2 separate regions of the Homo sapiens genome follow, and region 1 is linked to region 2. The links are contacts of gene promoters, found by promoter capture Hi-C in blood cells and fetal thymus (Javierre and others, 2016). All regions are on one chromosome and are shown on one strand. Each heading gives the region's core, a stretch centred on a gene start or on the middle of the fragment in contact. The rest is flanking DNA. Distances are from core to core; before and after follow the strand shown.

Region 1 (3,835 bases), core at 279-2,778, 80 kb after region 2:
AGACATTGTTTCTTTGGGGTAAACAGGAAAAGGAGAGCAGTGGGTGGCACTATGGAGAGATGGGGTAGAATGGAGGACAGAAAAAGGTGTTCACATGGAAGGCAAAGACTATCTAAGAAGCTAAGAGGAACAGAAGTGGGGAAGACAGAAAAATTTGCCGTGTACTGCAAGGGCAACATAATAATGACATTTGGAGGTAAAGAAAAGAATTGCTGGCTGGGCACAGTGACTCATGCCTGTAATCCCAATACTTCGGGAGGCTGAGGCAGGTGGATCTCTTGAGCTCAGGAGTTTGAGATCAGGCTGGGCAATATGGCAAAACTCTTTCTACAGAAAATACAAAAATTAGCAAGGCACAGTGGTTCACGCCTGTAATGCCAGCACTTTGGGAGGCTGAGGTGGACAGATCACTTGAGCCCAGTAGTTCAAAACAAGCCTGAGCAATTTGTCAAGACCTCATCTTTACAAAGAATTAGACGAGCATGGTGGTGCATGCATGTGGTTCCAGCTCCTTGGGAGGCTGAAGCGGAAAGATCACTTGAGCCCAGATGGTTGAAGCTACAGTGTTCATGCCGCTGTACTCCAGCCTGGGCAACAGAGCGAGACCCTGTCTCAAAAAAAAAGCGGGGAGGGGGAAGAAAAGAAAAGAATTGCCAAGTATCCCTGAGTTGAGAGCTGCTGCTGATGCTGAGGTTTCTGTGTGAGTCTCCACCCCTCTGCAGGCTGCATCAGTCACCTCCCTGCGCCTGAGCTGCCTGCAGTGCACAGCCTTGGGGCCCTAGCTAGTCCTACCCCCACCAGGCCTGACCCATAAGCTTCTTTTCCTTAATAAGGCCCTCTCTGGCGGGGCACGGTGGCTCACACCTGTAATCCCAGCACTTTTGGAGGCCGAGGTGGGCGTATCACAAGGTCAGGAGTTTGAGACCAGCCTGACCAACATGGTGAAACGCTCTCTCTACTAAAAATAAAAAATTAGCCAGGCATGGTGGCATGCACCTGTAATCCCAGCTACTCAGAAGGCTGAGGCAGGAGAGTCGCTTGAAGCCGGAGGCGGAGGTTGCAGTGAGCCAAGAACACGCCACTGCACTCCAGCCTAGGCGAGAGAGTGGGACTCCATCTCAAAAAAAAAAAAAAAAGGCCCTCTCCGTGTCTGTTTTCCTAAATCGACCTCCTTCAGAGGTGTCACAGGACTTCCTGAGCTACTTTCTAACAACCCAAGACTGGAATGTTAACCATCCACTACCCCACATAACCCTTCATTGCTAGTCACTTAACGGTCTTCCAGCTGCTTTGAAAGGTACTTTATTTGCTGACTCTTGCAGTGATTTTGGCTACTACCGTCCAGAAAATGACTCCAAGTGTGTGGAACAGCCAGAACTGAAGGGCCACGACCTGGAGTTTTGTCTGTACGGAAGAGAAGAACACCTAACAACAAATGGGTGAGGTGGCCTTTTCTCCCTTGTCACGATGGATGAGGTGTTCTTGTTCAGAGTGAAAGCTGCTTCTCTCCACACTGAGATCCAAGCCCTACTTTAGAGCACTATTTTTGGCGGGGTTGGGGAGGGGCAGGATATGAAGGCCTCCTTCAAGGGTCAACTACAGGAGGTGAGCCATGAGTGCTTGGTGTCAGAGGACTCAACCCCACCAACACCACGAGGCAGAGCAGGAGAACAAGCTCGGCCAGATCCTGCACCCCTGCCTCCCGCCCAACCACCCCCAGGAAGGGAGGAGAGGCGAGGGACCCACAGGCAGAATGACAGAAGCGTCCCATCCGCCATGAACGTCCATCGCTCGTCTGGCACAGTTTAGGCACAGCCAGGGAGAGCTCTGTCTGATAGGACTTTCTTTGGTGATGGAAGTGTTCTGTAATTTGCTGTGCCCAATATGATAGTCACTAGCCACACATAGCTGTGGACACTAGTGTAACCGAGGAACTGAAATTTTCGTTTTAATCAATTTTAAGTAGCCACCATATTGGACAGTGCTGCTCTAGACGGGCCTCATTACCTCGCTCCCCTGATAACTTCCCCTCTCCCATTTTGTACCACTTGTTAATGAGCTTTTTTGGGGTCAGATTTCTTTGGCACAGTCTCTTAGGTAGAAAGAACAGGCATGTTTCTGACAGCAGGGGACAGAGATGCTTAGTTTGCTTAAGGCCTGAAACTACACAAAATATCCCCCAAAACATCCCTGTGGACATTCCCCCCAGGCCTGAAACATGACGTAAGGATGGGAAGCTTTTCGGCAGCTTTTCAAATCTTGTTTCCAAGAAATAGGCAGGTACCCAGGAATACATCCTTATCTTCTGTTACCAAATCTTCTTTGCCTGGTAGGTACCGGAAAATTCCAGGGGACAAATGCCAGGGTGGGGTAAATCCAGTTCGAGAAGTAAAAGACTTGAAAAAGAAATGCACAAGCAACTTTTTGAGTCCGGAAAAACAGGTATGTTAAAATAGGTCTAGTTTTCAGGTACAAATGGGATTTTGTGTTCTGCTAAGAAAAATCAAAGTTAAAGCATCAAGAGTTTTGTTACTGATAAAAAGTGGTCAAACTACTTCTCTCAGGCTTCCCTTATACAGGAAGCTGTTAGCATGAAGGATGGGTCATGTAACCCAGTGATAAGCTCACCCTACTGAAAGCTCTTTTCTTATTGAGGGTTGGGGGATGATATTCTGTAAAGTTGTAAAATTCTTAAAATCATACAGTTGTGGAAATTTCTGAGGCTGAGAGTCATTTAGGAAAACAAAAAGGTTGTCTGTGGGCTGGGTACAGTGGCTCACACCTGTAATCCCAGCACTTTGGAAGTCCAAGGCAGGCAGATCACTGAGGTCAGGAGTTCAAGACCAGGCTGTCCAACATGGTGAAACCCTGTCTCTGCTAAAAATACAAAAATTAAAATTACAAAAATTAGCTGGGTGTGGTGGTTTACGCCTGTAGTCCCAGTTACTCGGGAGGCTGAGGTAGGAGAATCATGTGAACCTGGGAGGTGGAGGTTGCAGTGAGCCGAGATCGTGCTGCTACACTCCAACCTGGGCAACAGAGCAAGACTCCGTACCAAAAAAAAAAGGTTGTCTGTGAAGGGCCATGACCTGGAATTGTGCATGTGTGGAAGAGAAGAGCACTGGGCAATAGGTAGGGTGGATCTCTGACCAAGTCATGTTAAGTATGTTCAAAGTGAAAAATTGAGCTATGGTAATGGGCTGGTTTTGATTTAAATGAAGCAAGTTACCTGTCGGGCATGGTGGCTTACTCCTGTATAGTCCCAGCACTTTGGGAGGCTGAGGTGGGGAGATCAGTTGAGGCTATGAATTGGAGAGCAGCCTGGGCAACATGGAGAAACTCCATCTTTACAAAAAAAATACAAAAATTAGCCGGATGTGGTGGTGTGTGCCTGTAGTCCCAGCTACTCAGGAGGCTGAAGGGAGAGAATCACCTGAGCCTGGGAGGTCAAGGCTGCAGTGAGCCATGATCATATCACTGCACTCCAGCCTGGGTGACAGAGTGAGATCCTGTCTCAATTTAAAAAAAAAAAAAAAAAAAAAAGGTTATGAGGCTGCATCCAAATCTGTAGCACTGAACTACCTGTGGAACTGGAGATGTGTAAAGAGGAAACCTCTTGATAATGAAACACTAGACCAGCAGCATGACTTCAGATGCTCAACAGCAGGCCCGTTTCCCAATTCGTAATAGGAGAGGTCAAGCTGGATCACCTGCAGTCCCTCCTCTCTGCTGTTCTAAGGGATGAGGGACTGACAAGGGGTGGGATTAAGGAGATGATGGGAGAGGAGTGTGTGAGTGTGTGTATTGGTAAGGGGGCGAGTTCCTCCTTCTGTGC
Region 2 (3,702 bases), core at 568-3,067:
TTTTCTCAGTGCCATATGCAAGTTACCATGTCCCAGAAGCTGATACAGTTTGAAGAAGGAAATATATAAGTACTGTAAGCCTGTGATAACTAAAAGCAACATACTAAAAAGTGAAGGTACAGATAATTGGAACAAATTTAATAGCGTTTAAAAGTGTATTTGGTAATTTCTCCAGGAGGTGGCACTGTTGAGTTGTTTTTTCTTTTCAGACAGTAAGACAATAGACCATTCATCTTTGTGTCACCCAAACAAAGAAATATTCCTTTATAACCCCCTTTCCTCCCCCCACCTAATCACATGCTACTGGAACTGACTGTCTTGTGATCTACTCCCATAGTTGGCATAGATTTAAAAATAATCTTTTTTAAATTAATCTGATAGTAGTTATGGAAAGGAACAAATTGTTCACCAATTTTCATCAGCTTTATCTTTTCAGTCCAGTAACTGAGAACTTAAAAAGACTATTCTAGTGATTTTACTATCCTGCTCAGATGGCATTCAAAAACATTTTTCACTTCTCACGTCTTGGAAAAATTTGTAAATTCGTTAAGTCTTTTTGTTTGAAAGTTAATGTGACTGGAAATATTTTAATGTAAATATCGGGTTGGGTGCATTGTATCATTTTGCTCTACAATGACTATATCCTCATTTGGGTTTATGGCCAGTTTATAATTAAAAGTAATCTTTACTTGCTTTGAGTGTAATGACTTGCATATTTTGTATCTTTCTATTTGCTACCTTTTCTACTGAACAATTTCTAGCTTTCTGAAGGGATGGAGTCAGTAAGCTTAAGGATTCAGAACTGGTTTTACCTGTGCTACGTGTTGTAGAAGTTGTGTGTGCAGCTTCTGCGGTAAAGGGAACAGCGTAGGGGTTTTATTTTATTCATTAGAGGTGGATCGGGGTGCTAATTTAGAGGACATCACATACTGGAACCAAACTTGTCCGAAGCTCTCACTGCAGAGTTAAGGCACTTTGGTAAAATAAATGTGCATCTAGGAAATGATCATGTGTACAGTAGGCATTGGATCATTCTCTTGCCCCTCTTTTACCTGCCCCTAATGCCTAAGCTACATTCGAAGTCCTGGAAAACCTGTAAGTAATTCCGCCTTTGGCCTACCTCCCCTCAGAAGAGGAAGGTGAGAGAGGCCAAACGTATGGAAAGACTATTCTTCAGGCTTGCAGGAGTCACGGATGTCCTGATGTCTGTCTCCGTAGGATGTGGCCCACATCAGTTCGCATTCACCTTCTTGCAGCAAGGCAGCTGCTTAGCAGACAATGGGCGCTCCAGTGAGCGGGGTTTATAAAAACCCGAAGCCCCGGTTCATGATGGAGCCCCCTTTTCCAGCTGAGCAAGCTCAGGGATTTCCTGGGTAGGTTTTTCCAGGCTCTGCCTCACCGAAGGAATTTTAGGAGTGTCTCTGGGGAACAGGAGGGACGTAACCCAGCCCCAACTTGAGGGCGCTAGAGGTGCGGCAAGGGGTCGCGACGCCAGGAGCCCGGGGCTCGGCGGGAAGGTATGAGAAGCTCCTACGTGAACTCCACAAGCCGGGCCCGGGAGACGCCGGGCGAGGCGGGGTTGACCTCAGCAGTCTCTGCCCCGTTCCAGCCAATCAGTCCCGCATCTTAGCATCCGAATCCAGGACCCCCGAAGCCGGAGGCGACGCGAGCCAATGAGGAGTGGGCCGGGGAAGAGGGACAGGCGGCCAGCCTATGGGGCGGAGAGGCCCGGCCGCGCGTATCCAAGGAGCGCCGCGCTCGGCTCGGGGGTGTGGCGCGCGCCGGCGGGGGTGGGCGGGCGCGCCGGGCGGCAGGTGTCGGCGTCGGCGGCATTCGGCGGCGATGGAGCGGCCCTGGGGAGCTGCGGACGGCCTCTCGCGCTGGCCCCATGGCCTCGGCCTCCTCCTCCTCCTGCAGCTGCTGCCGCCGTCGACCCTCAGCCAGGACCGGCTGGACGCGCCGCCGCCGCCCGCTGCGCCGCTGCCGCGCTGGTCTGGCCCCATCGGGGTGAGCTGGGGGCTGCGGGCGGCCGCAGCCGGGGGCGCGTTTCCCCGCGGCGGCCGTTGGCGTCGCAGCGCGCCGGGCGAGGACGAGGAGTGCGGCCGGGTCCGGGACTTCGTCGCCAAGCTGGCCAACAACACGCACCAGGTGAGCGGGCGCCGGGCCCGGGAGCCGCTCGGGTGCGAGGTGCCGCCCGCGTGCCCCTCCCGGCCCGTGCGCCCCGCGACTCCCGGAGGAGACCCCAGCCCTGCCGCGCCCGCGTCCCCCGGGCCGCAGCCCCGAAACTGCGGCGGGCGGGCGGGCGGAGTCGGGCCCGGGCGGCCGGCGGGGCTGTGTTTTGTCATAGGGGAGGCAATCTTAGACTTCCACCGCATTCTTTTTTTTTTTTTTAAGTTGTCAAAATCTCTTGAACATCGTTTTTCGTCTGTATAAATAATCAGGACCCAGTAACGCTGTTAGGCCCCAGGAAGGTGAAGGAGTAATTAACTCTTGAGCGCTTGCAGAAGTTGGGCTGCGCAGAAGCAAAGGTGTGTCCTCTCTGGGTCAGTACTTTCCGGGTGGGAGAGGCGGGAGTTCAGGAGGCCCGAAGCAGCGATCTGGTCACCGTGTTTTAATAGTTAAGGGGACTAGCTTGGAAATGAGATGGCAATATTTATGTGATCTCTTTTACTGCTTCAGATTTGACCTTCTGTCATGGTACGGAAGTCTGACTAGCATGTCTATATCCCGTGGTGACAAGATTTTCAATAGTTAAGAAACGCATTGCACATATTCTGCTTTGAGCCAGCTCTTGGTCAAAAGACTTTCAAAATTATGGGATTTCTGTCCCTGGGGACAAGCAGCTCAACCTTTGCACACTACTGGACTGACAAAACTAATTATTAAGAAAGTCCTGGTTCCTTGCTTCAGCACAACTTGGGCATCTTTCTCCTATTTCTCTAAAATTAACAATTTAATCCTTGCTAGCCACATTTGCATAATGTATTTTCAATTCTATATATTTTCTCCCTTGCCTGTTTTCCTCTTTCAAAGAAAATGAATTGCACTTGGGGGCAGAGATGGGTGGCCAAGGCTCTGTGCCAGCACTTGTCCTTCTGTAACCGTTTTTCAGCGTCAGCCAAGCCTCAGTCTCCCTTTGGACTGCCTGGTTATCTGGACCATACTTGTTACCTGTAATAGAATTCTCTGATCTGAGGACACAAGACACAAATATTCAGGAATAATTGTGCTTAGTGTATCCCGAGCAGCAGCTGTGTAAAGGTAGCCAAGCTAGTGCTGGAGGGTGAGACAGGTTGGGTAGAATGAGTACTGGGAAGTCTTCCTACTTGATGAGAAAAAAAAATCGAATAGACTTCCTTCTCACAGTGGGGGATTGAGAAAGGCTTTACAACACTAATGCTTAATTTATACTGGACCACTTCCTTCCTTGAGCTAGCTGGTCACAGCATTCTTGCTCCATATTTCAAATTCTTCTCTCGCTGGTTGACCTAACTTTAGGTCTGCTGCTACTCCTGGATTTAGATTTACTCCTGTTTTTCTTTTTCTCTTTTTTTGTGAGATAGAGTCTTACCTCAGCCTCCTGAGTAGCTGGGACTACAGGTGTGCACCACTATGCCTAGCTAATTTTTGTGTAATTACTATTTTTTTTTTGAGATAGGGTCTCACTCTGTTGCCCAGGCTGGAATGCAGTGGTGTGATCAC

Evidence for each region. Contacts are between HindIII fragments. The CHiCAGO score rates a contact against its expected background, and 5 or more counts as called.
Region 1: a contact is called between a fragment that was not itself captured here and the fragment with the promoter of SORT1 in region 2, in 4 of 17 cell types (M2 macrophages, M0 macrophages, M1 macrophages and 1 more). The highest score is 6.8, in M2 macrophages.

The regions. Positions count from the first base shown.
Region 1 is chr1:109,315,457-109,319,291 of GRCh38, reverse strand. It overlaps SORT1 (sortilin 1), which reads left to right. Exons shown (of 20, transcript NM_002959.7): 16 at 1,323-1,439; 17 at 2,334-2,442. Among named protein-coding and RNA genes, the nearest start is that of MYBPHL, 10 kb to the right of the region's middle. The HindIII fragment of the contact is 1,422 bases long and covers 818-2,239 here.
Region 2 is chr1:109,396,033-109,399,734 of GRCh38, reverse strand. SORT1 (sortilin 1) reads left to right here and starts at 1,817. Exons shown (of 20, transcript NM_002959.7): 1 at 1,817-2,148. The coding sequence starts at 1,843. It overlaps PSMA5 (proteasome 20S subunit alpha 5), which reads left to right. Exons shown (of 9, transcript NM_002790.4): 9 at 1-693. RefSeq lists an enhancer at 683-1,664 and silencers at 1,691-1,820, 1,861-1,930, 1,941-2,040. The HindIII fragment of the contact is 10,275 bases long and covers 790-3,702 here.